Regions from separate parts of the Homo sapiens genome. Here region 2 is linked to region 1. Evidence: promoter capture Hi-C in 16 types of primary human blood cells and fetal thymus (Javierre and others, 2016). All regions are on one chromosome and are shown on one strand. The core of a region is centred on a gene start or on the middle of the fragment in contact, and the rest is flanking DNA. Distances in the headings are between cores, read along the strand shown. Region 1 holds the start of AMPH (amphiphysin). Region 2 holds the start of POU6F2-AS1 (POU6F2 antisense RNA 1).

Evidence for each region. The method cuts DNA at HindIII sites, captures the fragments that hold promoters and counts their contacts. A CHiCAGO score of 5 or more calls a contact.
Region 2: a fragment that was not itself captured here is called in contact with the fragment with the promoter of AMPH in region 1 in 1 of 17 cell types (M0 macrophages); the score reaches 5.3 in M0 macrophages.

What each region holds. Positions count from the first base shown.
Region 1 is chr7:38,627,573-38,634,517 of GRCh38, forward strand. It overlaps AMPH (amphiphysin), which reads right to left and starts at 3,801. Exons shown (of 21, transcript NM_001635.4): 1 at 3,711-3,801. The coding sequence starts at 3,779. The HindIII fragment of the contact is 9,553 bases long and covers 1,371-6,945 here.
Region 2 is chr7:39,399,892-39,406,836 of GRCh38, forward strand. It overlaps POU6F2 (POU class 6 homeobox 2), which reads left to right. Exons shown (of 10, transcript NM_001370959.1): 6 at 6,709-6,849. POU6F2-AS1 (POU6F2 antisense RNA 1) reads right to left here and starts at 6,455. Exons shown (of 4, transcript NR_046711.1): 1 at 6,443-6,455; 2 at 6,126-6,228; 3 at 5,036-5,114; 4 at 4,707-4,892. RefSeq lists an enhancer at 683-1,183. The HindIII fragment of the contact is 843 bases long and covers 3,481-4,323 here.

The DNA of each region.
Region 1 (6,945 bases), core at 2,551-5,050:
TGAACCCAGGAGGTGGAGCTTGCAGTGAGCCGAGATCGCGCCATTGCACTCCAGCCTGGGTGACAGAGCGAGACTCTGTCTCAAAAAAAAAAAAAAAAAAGCTAAAGGAAAGATATGGTCTGCATATACTTTTACATATACATATGTATAAGAATATGTATATAGGCTACTATAGGTAAGATATTCATATATCTTATGTGAATATATAGCTTTTATTCATTAAAAGCTAATCTAAATTTATATGTACAAGAACCATATATAAATTGTTAGATATTATTATTATTAGCAATTAAATTCCTTTTTTCCTTAAGCCAGTTTGGGTTGAGCTTTCTGACACCTGCATGTAGCAGGATCCTGACTAATTCAACCACGCAAAAGAGAAACCAGACAAAACCAACCAATAGATGTAAGCAGATATACATAAAACATCAACAAAAACATTTTCTCAGTAGAAATCACCAAACAATTTAAAAGTAAATAGAAAAGGAAGAAAGAATGGTTGTAACCCTTAGGCTTGATAAAGTTTTTGCCCTTACTAATAACAAGACAGAATTGCTACAGAAAACGGGCAGAAATATAAAAGCACAATTCAAGAACAAAAACACGAATGCACAAAAGTTTGCTTTTTAAAAATCAAACAAATGAAATTAATCATGAACAAATTTTATCCAATGACATAGCTAAACATTGTTTTAAATTTTATTATCCAGAGTTGGCAAGTGTCTCATGGACTGCTGATGAGAATGTAAATTGGTACACCTTTCTGGAAGGCAATCTAGCTATAATAAAAATAGGCAAACCTTGGATGCAATAAGTCTTCTTCTAGGAATTTATCTAAGGAGATAATTAAAGAGGTGTGCAAACATTCTCCCTACAAATTTGCTCACTGACTTGTATTTCCATATAGAAACACTGGAAAAATGAATATTCAAAAGATAAGGCATTCAGTATAATCCATACATTCCAATAGTGTTCAATAATTTAAAATATTGATGGAAAATATGTACATGTATAGAAGGATGTTCATAATTATGAAGTGAAATAAACAGGTCTTCAACTATACAGCAATGAGCCTGTTTTGGTTGTATAAATACATACACACATGGAAAAAGATCTACTCAGATACATATCAAATGGTAGTAAAATTTCCGAGTAGTAGAATTATGTGCTTCGTAATTTGCTGGAGTTTTTTTCTGCTTATATGTACATTTCAGCCTTGTGGTTTTTTTCTGCTGACTAATACATTTCAGCCTTTCTCCAATGAATCTTCACTGACTTTCAGTAAGAAAAAAACGTATTTAAAATTCCTAAAAAGCCATGTCACCTCTAAAAGTGATTTCAGACATGCAGTTGGAGCCTAAACATATGCAAGCTTTTAGGTGAAGCACAGATGATAAGAAAGTCAAGGGAGTGGACTCTCTTTTAAGAAAATTTGGTTGTAAAAACAAGAAGCAAAGGGTCTCAGGGACATATATGGTCTATAGTTATTGGGATGAAGAGTCTTCTCTGGAGAAGAGGAAGAGGCCAAAGGTGTAGAAAGAGGGAATCACGTGGGGATATGTCTAATGGAGCCTCTGACAGTAACATACTGTGCTTTCCTTTCTCCAGCAGCCTCCATTTGGGCTGGGCTGCTTTACCTGGATGCCAACATGCCCTTTTCTCTTTGTGCCAAGCATATCCTGATGCTACACAGACTCAGAAAGGGGGGCAGAACTCACCCTGGGGAAGAGCCTATACTCTCAGCCTCTTAGTGTTTGAACCTCTATACTAGGTGCGGCAGGCACTTTTCATCAGCACCTTTCCCCAGTGAAGAAAATAGGACGCTTGAAACCCCCAAGAGGGTCTCTCACCCCCGCTCCCATAGAAGACTGACCACCATCCACAACTGCAGTCATAAAGTACACTTGACCTTGATCGTGAAAAAGTGAGTTTTGACAATTCACAGGACTTGAATGCTCCGTAAGAGATTAGGTTTTCTTTTCATTTATTTTGAGCATATTAACAGCTGGTGACCTAGATTAAGAAATAATTCAATATGTGAAAAGGCAGACCATATCACTAAATTCCTTCACAGATGGAAAGTGGATTCAGTGAAAAGCCTCAGACCGAAGAGTCAAGTAATTACTTGGAAGGCAGGAGGAGGAGTACCTACAAGTGGGTAAAATGAAGTGTGGAAAAAGGATGACAAAACCTGGCCCAGATCCCAAGCCAGCAGATCCCTGGCTACTTTCTGCACAAGTAACCCGGGCCTGGAAGGCAGCAGGCAGCCTTGCTAATTCAGCTGCGGAGGGAGAGGCAGGAGGAGGATCACTTTAGTTCAGGATGAGCTTGGGTAGATATTAAAAGAAATACAATCCTCTTACTGCATGGAGAGTGTGCATGTGTGGAGGGAGGGACTAGAGGCAGCCACCAAGCCTCTGGGCCTGGGGACAAAAGGGATCAGTGCCCCCTCTGCTCAGCAACTCATGGTCAGCCGGAACTGGGAGGCAGCCTGAGATTGAGATTGGGTCTGAAGAGGGAAATTCATTGCCATCCTGAGCAACATGGCAAATCTGACTTCCAGTAAAACAGGAAAACGCTAAACACCCCATATCCTAGGGACGGAAAATACTGCCACGTGAAAGAGAACACAGTTCAAGTGATACCAATCATGGGGCTCATTAGCCGGTGTTGATTTTCAAGTACAATGCTCAAGCTACAATATAAAGGAAATGTCCTTTGCTCAGGACACAAATGAAGACCTCAGGGCCGTCATATACAGCAGTCACCAGGGAAGCCAGGCAAGCCTGGTGCCTGGTACAACTCCCCTCCACCTGCTTTGGGCTGTGCTTGCTACGGACCTGGGTTTCATTCATGCACGTCTCTGGGGAAAAAAAATAAATTACTGTGCGCAATTTACTGAGGGACTTGCAAAACAACAGAGAACCCAATTTGTGCAATCTGGATTTTTTAAAATGCAATAAAAGGTCCTTCTTTGTGCAGAAATATGCAGAAAGGAACTATTAGGTTCAGGTCATATTTATTTTTGACCTTCTAAAGAAGGACACTGGAGTCAAAAGGGACACAAACATATAGACCAAAATTAAAAGTGTGTATATCTAGATCTCTGTTTTGAACTCCAGAACTCACCAGACAGCACTGTGTGATCACGATCCTACCCTATTGGTCCTGGGAGATTTTTGGTGGCTTCTCTGTTAAATCGTTCGTGTCTGCTGCACTTAAGTAGCCACAAAATCCCCCGCAAGAAGGAAGGCTGCTGCAATCTCCCGCCCCGATCTGCGGGCCGCGTCCCCGCGAGCTGCCTGCGGGCGCGCTGGGAGCCGGCCCGGGGAGATGCGAGCGCAGGGAGATGCGCTCTGCTCCGGGCGCAGCGGGCAAGCTGCCGCACCTCCTACTTCTGTTGCCTGGCTTGGGGCCAGGAGAGCGGCAACCCGGGGCCGGCTCCGGAGCTGGACATATCCGGCGTCTCCGGGGCCAGGGTCTGCGGGTCCCCGGCGCTGCGTCCTCCCGACCCGCTCCCCGCGGCGCCCGGGTCGCGCCTTGCGGCAGTCACCGAGCTGAGGGCAGGGCGTCCCAGCGTCCCTGGCCCCGGCCCCGCTCCGCAGCGCGCCGCACCCCGAGGCTCGGGCCCCGCACAGCTGCAGCCGGTGCCCTCCGGCCAAGCCCCCGCCTGGCGTCCCCGGCCCCAGCCCCGGCCGCCCGCCGCTGACCTTTTCCTGCGCGCGGTTGAGTCGCTTCTGGACGTTCTTGGCGAAGATGCCCGTCTTGATGTCGGCCATGGCTGCGGGTCCGGGGAGCTGCGAAGAGCAGAGCGCGCAGCGGGGCTGGCGGCGGCGCGGAGGAGCGGGAGGAGGAGCGGGAGGAGGAGGAGAGGGCCGAGCAAGGGAGGAGCGGGAGAAGCGGCGGGGAGCCGCGGAGCGCGGAGGGGTGAGGGCGGGGCGCGGCGGCGGGACCAGCTTAAAGCGACAGAGCGGGGGCGGGATGCGTCGGGACTGGCTGTGACATGGGGAGAAGGGGCGGGGGAAGAAAGAGAAAGAGGCCAAGAAAAAGAGAGGGAAAAGCCAGAAGCCAGATTGTCTCCTCGATGATAGAAGAGTTTCGAGAGGAGAAAGGGAACCAAGCCTAGCAGAAGTCCCTGGGCCCAGGGGCAGCTCGGGGGTTCTTTTAATGCAGTTTGTATTTGGGGAGAGTGAGGGGACCTGATTCTTTCCAGCAAAAAAAGAAATAGGGGAGACAAAAAAGGGAAGAACCCTAGGGATGTGGAAGCCAGCTGGATTGGAACTGCTCTGAAGTGGAGCTGATGGGGCTGGTCCCTTGCTGCTCCCAAAAGTTTCCAGCTAACAGAGGCCCCTCCATACACCCTGGGTGTTGCAGAAGAAGGTATGGAGGTCGCCCTACCCTCAGGAGGCTCACAGCCCAGTGAGGGGCCCTGGCTGGGAAACCAACGAAGTCAGAGCTGCAGGAGAGAGGCGTGTGGAGAGCAAAGCGGGGAGAGACCATCGCTGACACTTGTTTAAACTTTAAAACAAGAGTTAGCAGGGCGGGGAGGTCCGCGTTGAGAAAGGTCAGCTTCCGGAAGACAGGCGATGTGTTTTGGTCATCTCCAAAATTCCTGTGCTGGGCAGAAACCTTAGAATAGACTACTCTTCAAGAAATGGTGCATGGAACAGTCAAGTCCCTTATAGCTTCGCATCAACCATGGAAGACCCAGTCCCCCCTAACTTGTTGCTTCCTTGGAAACCTTTTGGCAACCTTAACAGGGACTCACCATCCCTATTATTCTTATTAATGCTTGGGAGAAGTACGAATAATAGGGATAAACCTGCCCTACACCTAGAGCTCTTGTTGGCTCTGACCAGTGGTCAAACTATTCATATTCCATTCTCACTGAGAGTGTGAGGAGAAGAAGTCAGGTGGTGCCCTGCAAACAGAGGTCAGAAGTGGTCACTCACAGTGAATCCTATGAGTCCAGGTGAGCATCCTACTGTACCTCTGGGGGAAACTGTTACATTGGTAGACCTCAGCGAGCTGCCACCTGGTGTTCACTCTTGTGTCACCCTGTAGTCCCCTCACCTTGATTCTAGAATGATGCTATGGCCAGCTTTAATCAATAAGATGTGGTGAAAGTGACGCCATGGTAATTCCAGTCCCCCCCCCACCCACCCAACCTAGAAACCAGGCAAGTTTTGCCCTCTGGGGATTCCTGTGACACCATATAGGAAATTCAGCTAATTCAGCTACCCTGCTGCAAAAATAAAATAAAATAAAATAACAAGGAGAGGCCATACAGAAAGGGAGAGGCCCTGAGATTACGCAGAGAGAGAGAGAGAGAGAGAGAGCAGCCAAGATGTCCCAGCTGAGCCCATTCTCCAATCAGTTCACTGGCTGGCTGCAGCCACACAAGCAACCATCAGCAAGACCAGCAGAAGAACCACTCAGCTAATCCCAGCCAGAGTGCAGAATGTGAGCAAACAAAACAGTTTTTATGAGTCGATCACTTTTATAATGCTTTATTATAAAACAGTAGGTACCTGGAACACCTGGTCTATGTGCTTGGCTCTTATTTCCCTAGGATAAATATCTGCCCCAGTTTCCTTAGGAATTAAGGAATTTCCAGGACACAGGACTCTTAGTGCTAACAGTGGGAAAGTTCTGAGCAAATTTGGATGAGTCCTACTTATAACACTCCAAGTAAACAGAGGTTTATTTCAGAGAGATAAAAAAAAATCCACCACTTGGTCAACATTCAATGAAAAAGGCTATGCTCAGAAACCAGGAATTTGAGTCACCTCCCTCAAACAGGGGCCTTTGGGGCTGTAATGGTTATACTGAGTGTCAACTTGATTGAATTGAAGGATACAAAGTATTGATCCTGGGTATGTCTATGAGGGTGTTGCCGAAGGAGATTAACATTTGAGTCAGTGGGCTTAGAAAGGCAGACCCACCCTTAATCTGGGTGGGCACCATCTAATCAGCTGCCAGCGTGCCTAGAATATAAGCAGGCAGAAAAATGTGAAAAGAGAGACTGGCCTGGCCTCCCAGCCTACATTTTTCTCCCGTGCTAGATGCTTCCTGCCCTCGAACATCAGACTTGAATTTCTTGTTTTGGAGTTTTGGAACTCGGACTGGCTCTCCTTGCTTCTCAGCCTGCAGACAGCCTATCGTGGGACCTTGTAATCGTGTGAGTTAATACTTAAAAACACACATATATATATGTGTTCCATCAGTTCTGTCCTTCTAGAGAACCCTGACTGATACAGGGTTCAGAATCTCAGCTCTACCTTGGGATCTTGACTATGAGGATACAAGTCTCAGAATGCTGGAATACACCAGAAGTGTTCTAGAGAATATCAATCCATAGTCACTCTTGCACTGTGAGCCCCAGAGCCACCTACACTGGTTTTAGATACAGCTCCCTCTGCAGACATCACTGCCCTCCCTCTGTCAGGCAAGGGACAGGAGTTCCGAGTACCAGATTTACTTTTTTCTGCTTCCTTAGAGCTCAAGCCCTCAGTCACCAAAGTACCAGCTTTTGTCTGTCCCGTAATTATTCCCACCCCACCCAACCACATTTTTGGAACTCAATAAATATATTTTAAAATAAAATTGCAAATTATTAATTTTTCTTATTATTCAGATGCCCAAATCTAGTTCTGTAACATAGGTGGAAAAGGGAGGCTTGTCATTTCTTAATAATTCTATTTGGAATACATGCTGAGCATATTAAAAAGTTGTTACATGCAAACTGTTATCAAAACATTTCACTCCAACAGAAAGGTAAATCGGTGTCCACTTTCAGGTTGCCAGGTGGCTCATTCTAGCCATTCTGGAATATTGACTAAGCACTTTAGCTGGTATTTAGTAGCTGTTCTGTAAATATTTGTTGGAAAATGCATGTATGCATGAGAATAGCTCATGAGCATCCATCATGCAAGATACGATGAT
Region 2 (6,945 bases), core at 2,652-5,151, 770 kb after region 1:
AAAGAAAGGTCTCAAGGGGTCCAGAGTGCAGGAGCTTCTGTCGCCAGGGAGTTTGGGGTGTACCACCCTCCCAGCCCATGGATACATTCACCAAAGAGAAACTCTCCAAATCTGTTGTATAGGGTTCCATTATGAAGACATGATTGCTGAAATCATTGGCCACTGGTGATTAGCTCAGTCCCCAGCCTCTCTTCCCTCTCCTTCGTTCGGGAGTGGGGCTGCAAGTTCTATCCCCATAGTCACAGGGTTTGGCTACTCTACCAGCCAGGTCGAATTCTCCTAGAGCCACCTCATTAGCATAAAGTTGGGTGTGGTTGAAAGAGGGCTTCTTAAGAATAACAAAAGATGTTTTTCCTACCCCTATTACTCAGAAATTCCAAGGGTTTAGGAGTTCTGTGTCAGGAACCAAGGATGAAGACAAAATATATATTTCTTATTATGTCACAAAATGATATGTTCCACCCAGATCCCCTGGAATCCCTCTTTTTCCATGAGTTGCCCCCACACCTTGGGCTTTCAATGACCTGCATCTGAAGGCTTTCTTCCAAGGACTCCCTCAGGCTCCAGGATCCATTTGACCCCAAGAGCAAAGGGCCAGCAGTGCCTGAGCATTGCCAACCCTCATCTTCACCCCACGGGCTGTTAACCAAGGACTGTCAGGTATAGGGTATGACAGCCCAGCTTCCTTCCCATAGGGTGGGACAACGCTGAGACCCTACAAACACTCCAGAGCCTCGAGCTGGGTCAGTTTTCCTCCCTTCCCTTTTCTGTTTCTGGGAAAGCTGACCAAAAACCTTAGGTTACCTTAAAAATTCCTCTGTTAGCCAATATGGCTGTATATTGGAACACTCACAGAAAATTACTATACTTCCAATTTTACCATTAAGTGAAAATAAAATATAATTAATTCTGAAACTATACCAAAATCATGGGATTTTACATTGGTGAGTCAAAGCGTTGTAGGACTATCTCCTTAGTTCAGCTAAAGATGAGGTCCTTGTCATACAGCCATGAAAAATTAGGACCACAGACAATTTGAAGGGTGAGATAAACAGGATTTATTGGGCAAAAAGGGAAACAGGGACTCTCTGCAAAGCCAGAGTCCCTGCTGGTGCACTTCCTGATTGAATCCCAGCTTCCACCCAGGAAGAGGAGGGGCCAGGCTCCTCCCTGCTGCAAACAGCGTGGATTTCTGTGGCTCCACCCCAGTGCACATTCTTCCCAGTGCGCAGGCTGGTTAGTGTTTCTCTGGGGACTCCTTTCCACCTGGCTGTCTCAAAAGGTATTTTAGGATGTTGCAGTGCCTCAGAGGCATCTCTCAATCTCAAGCACCCCAGCCCCAAAAATCTCTCAGCAGTGGTCAATGGAGACAGTTGGCAGAGAGTGGGAAGGTCAGCATCTAACACATTGCCACCACTACAGGGAAGGGTGGGCAGACAGTGAGCAGCAAATCCTGGCTCAATACTGGAACTCACAAAACAGGTTTTCTAACTGTTATGAGGGTGTTGTTATAACACAACAATAATGATGAGACCCGGGGGGAAAATTTAGTAGGATAAAACACACATCAACCACGTTGTTGAGATAAATATGGTCACTCTTCCAGTATTTGTCTACTGATAATTTCTTGACTTTTTAAGAGAAGACTTGAGGGTAAGATGTGGAAGTACTGATTTGGTTAGAAGAATCCCAAGGAACCAAGAGACACTTTTTCATACACATAGGAAAAGTCAAGGTCCTAATGTATGTAAATGAACTCAAAAGCTGCATTTGCCCTGCTGTTTCTAGGCATCCACGGCCGAGTCATTTCAAACCTTAAATGAAGAGTGAATAGTGATGAATGCGTTTATGAATATCCTCATTTGAAAACAATGACACCGTAGTCCCAGGGTTCTAAATTGAAAAGTTAGTAGCAAAAAAGAGCTGCTCCAAAATCCATACTCTATAAAATCCACATAGCTCATGAGGAGAATGATAGAACTATAGATCATGGGCAATTATGCTCCAAAGAAAGGTTTTGAGGCAGCTGCATTCATAAGTCCCTCTTAGAATGAAGACATAAACATAGGAATATAATACCATAGCTAAATTGCCTCATCATGCTGCCGTATTTTTGTACATGAGATTTATAATAATAGAATCATATAATCAGCCCATTTGCATGACAAATATTATGACTACTAATGTTCAGATTTAAGGAAACTGAATTCTTTTCAGGATACAAACTATGCATCTTTCAGAGAAAGAGAATATGGGACATGACTTAGAGAAAAACTTTCTTCCATCATGTGATACTATGTATGGTGACATCCATATGACATCATCTAAGGGTGCTCCCTAGGGAGACTTTATCAAAGCTTTTTTTCTCATCACCATTTAGTGTACACAGACAGCAAGGAGATGCACAAAGTATATAGATTTGGAAATATGGATTTATTCTCATTATGAGATGAGCACCAAATATCCATATTGATATGTAGACATAGAAATAAATCACTGTAAATCCTAAAGGAATTTTTTTTTTTTGCAAATCTTTTTCCTGCATTCCCTCACTATCAAATCAGCAACTGTGAGATGGACTCATTCACAATATTTTGACATGAGGCAGGAATTAGACTCCAAAATGGGTGCCCTTATGGAAACCTAACGAATGTTGCAAACTAAGGATGAGGAAAACGTACTATAAATAAGGTAATGTCTTCTCTTGCTGTCACCTGCTGACCCTGGCTTCAGACTCTAGGCACTACTTTCTCTACAGATGAGCTAATCCCATCAAATAGGACAGGCCCAAGACAAGCAGATGAAGCCCTGTTTTAAATACTTGTTGCTTATGCTCTCTACTCTAAAATACTTTTACACATTCTTCAAGCTGATCTTTTTTTATAAGAAAAAAAAGTAAAATAAAATTGCTCTAAAAATAGGGAATAGTTACCCATGTTCCTATTATTTCCAAAGAAAAAAGATATTTATGGAGGTGAGTTCTAATTCCAAGTTGATTAATTCAAAATCTTCATGCACAGTATAAACCATCAGAACATTAGCTACCATTTATTAAGAAAATAATGTATGCTAGGTATTAATCTAAAACTTTTGAGTGCATTATCTCATTTAATTCTCATCCTAACCCTGTGTGTGATATTCTTTTCATACCCATTTTACCCCTAAGAAAATGAAGTGTGGTTTACTTAAAGTCACAAACCAAGGCAGTCTGTTTTCAGAGCTGATGCCCTCAGCTGCATTAATGGGTGAGCAGGGGAATGTGAGGCTTGGAGCCCTTCCTCACTGGCATAAAACTACTTCAAAAAATTATTCTGTTGTTGTATTCTCTAAAATTCCAGGGAGGAGAAAACTGTCTTAAGATATCAATGCTTCTCTTAGTGGGATTTAGACTCCAGAAGTAGAACTTGATGTATTCAAGGCCCAGAATCCATTTGTATACAACATAAGAACTCTAGCCCTCTGCAAATCCTTCCTTTAGAAAGCTTCCACATTTATCAACAAGCATACACCAGAATTCATCATGTCTTTTAAGCTAGTCTGTTGAAAACAAGACCATGTATTACAGTCAGACTTCATTTGGGCCATCCTTTGCTGGTTAGGTACATTGGCAGTGAAAGATCTGAAGGCATAAACTTGGCAGCAGCTTCAAAATATCCAGTTGGTCCCGGAACAATAACATGCTCATTATGTGCATTTATTGTTCCTGGGTTCCCTGCTGTCCAAATCTACCCGGAGTCTCCAATCAAGAAATATCGATAGGAGCAGTGCTAACATGATATGACTGGGGACAATACAGAGTGACATGACCCGAGGTGATGAGAAGAACACGTGTGGTTTCCTGACCAACCCCTTCACTTCCCTCCCACATATTTTAATGCATATTACATCCCTGCCTTGGCAGTCACAGACAGAGAAGCCAAAAGATATGTATGTATAAAGTTACATCCATCAACACCACCAGTGGTCCTCCTGGAATGCCGTCAGCTTACAGATTGGCTTGCACCCACTGTCTGTGCACACCACACTCCGTGACTGTGGTTCTAGCTCTAGTTCTACAGGAACAGCAGGGCATCTCCCCAGAACCCAGACAACTTCCACAAAGACCTACTGGAATGACGGTAGGAAGTAAAAGAGTCATCTGAGTTGGCATTTGCTTCATTAAGAGGGAAAGGCAGCAAAAAGAGGACCAAATTAGGTTTTAAGCTAGGACCAGAATACAGAGGAAATAAACATTAAAAATAAGCCAAACCTATATATTTGTGGTTGCCAAGGCAGCCATCCAAAGCAGTTGAAATATATCCATTTCTGACCCCAAAACACAAAAGCTTAGAAGCCCACTTTTAAGTAGAGACTTTGTTTTGTATTCAGAATAATTGTTTATCCTTTATGCAATACCTGAATTTGCAGCAAACTGCATGGGACTATATCTGAACAACACACTAGTGTCCTAAATGTAGGAAATTCTCAATCTATGCTATTTGGTATCCAGAGAATAATTCTATAATTTCCTATATGAATTTTTGATCAACATAGATGTTAGGGAAATGCCTTGCAATTAATAAAAAATATTTTCTTTTCATTAAATATAAATAATTGTCTATCTTTTTCAGAGAGCATTCTGTATGTAGATACTTAAATTGTTCACCCAAAATTCATGGACCAAATCCATAGTCAACATTAAGATCCAACTGAACATAATTTAATCATTTGTTGAGGATGAAGAAGTTTATTTTGAGATATTCCTGAAACTCAAGAAATTCATTATGATTTCAACTTGTATTGCATGAAAGAAATGCAAACATGGCAATTGACAGATGACCTAAAAATATTGTACCAATGGGCAGTGTCTGTACCGGCAGTTCGGAGACAGTATTTCCCAAGCAGTCTTCTCACTTCAGAAGTTAAAAAAAAAAAGAACACATTATGAACTCTTCTCACTTTAGGTAGTCTACAAACAAGGAGAGTTACTTCTGGATGCATAGTTACCCCACCTATCCTTTAAAGACATACTCCAAAAATCAAAATCAAGACCAACCTGAATTTTAAATCCCATGGTGGTAATCTGGGATAAGACAGGGTTTCTCTTTAGGCTGATGAGTGAGAATTTTTTTCTCCTTAAAAAGAAAATCATTATTGTCTTTTAGGAGAGAGATAAAGGCAAAAGACATAAAGTAATCAACTTAAAATGGATTCTCATTTTTTTTAAAAAATGTGCTGGGTCAGCAGAATTACTGAAGAACAGTTGTGTGAAATTTAGTTATAAATGAATAAAGAAACCGATAAGATAAAGATACCACATTAATGAAAAAATAGTTATTAAATTCCTGTCCTTTTTGATGTTTTCTCTGATAATTAATATTTCCTTCTTCATAAGATAGTATAATCTCTAGGCAAATTTCCAAAGAAATTAAGAAATAAAATATGATTTGAAGGGAAGAAGGAAAAGAGAGAGAGAGAAGAGAGACTGAGACAAAAAATGAAGAAAGGAAAGTTTTAAAAGTGGCATTTTTAGAAGAGCTTCCAAGACTTGAATTAGGTATGGCATTAATTTTTTTCCACCTAGTCTTAGTCGTGGCAGGTTTCTGAAAAAATGCAGGAATTTCATGGATGTGGGAACTGGTGATGGAAAATGCATTATTTCCAACACAACAATTGTTGTACTTGAGAGAAACTATATGGGGAAAAAAATAACACCCTAGAATAAATACAAATGAAATTCATGTATCAAAACCAATACTGTGAAAATAGTTTAAATGTTTCTTGAATTTATATCTAGTCATTAACCTAAATGCAGATTTTAGTTGAAGCCACACTTCTGCCTCATGGTCAGAAGGCCTGAAAACCTGTGGCGTGGAAAATTGGCAGGAAGGAGAATATTGAATTGGTCTCCATGGAAAAACAGATTTTGGCAGCCATAACCTCCTCCCCGGCAGGTCTCTCTCCCACTCTCTCTTTCTTCCTCCCTGTTTCACTCTTGTCCCAGGAAAGAGGCTGAGGAAAGACCATGTATCAGCTACAACAGCAAGCAGTTGTCAATCTGACCATTCATCGAACAACCTTTCTCATTGGCATTGAATCCTGTGGTTTAGGTTAAAGCCCCAAAATTGTCGCAGCCCTAGACTCACCCTCTGAGAGCACGGAGGCCATAAATTCCATTTCTACTGGCTTTGGTTTCCTTCTCCCCTCAAACAAGAAAGTGGGGTGGAACACCTGCCTCGCTCGATGTCCCTGAAAGAAACTGCAATTCACAAATGGAAATGATAAATTCATTCTTAGAAATCCTAAAAATCTATTCCTCTCTTTCCCCGATCCCCATCCTGTTTACTCTCCTATTCTGTCTGGTTACCTCAGGGAAAGCAGATATTTCCTGAGTTTTATTTAGTCTAGAGGGCTTCTGCGAAATCATTTCTCCACCCCAGAAGGTCCTAACAGCCCACCTCACCCCTGAAGTTCAGGCTCGTTCCCTCCTGGGCTAGCCCTAAACCCAGACTCCACCAAGCTCCCCAACATTTTCCTTCCAGCCTCGTTTCCATCATCCCCCTACCCCAGAGCTTCCGGGGGAATGTTCGCCACGCCCCTCCGGTGGGTTCCAGGCCCTTTGCATGAGCGAATTGAGGCGAGAACTACCTCCCCAGAGTCAATGTTGTGTCCGTGTGCTGTGCCTGTGCCTCTCGGTGGTTTTCACGGTGATCTTTTCTCTCTTTGCAGCTGGTTAATAATCCACTAGCAAGTCAGGCTGCAGCGGCTGCAGCAGCCATGAGCTCCATAGCAAGCTCACAGGCCTTTGGCAATGCCCTCTCCAGTCTTCAGGGGGTCACAGGTCAACTAGTTACTAATGCACAAGGACAGGTGAGTGGGAGATGGGAACAAGAGTGCATTTTTATGGCAGATTGAACTCGGAAAGGAATTGAATTTCTTTTGCATGACAGTGATATGTAACCGCAT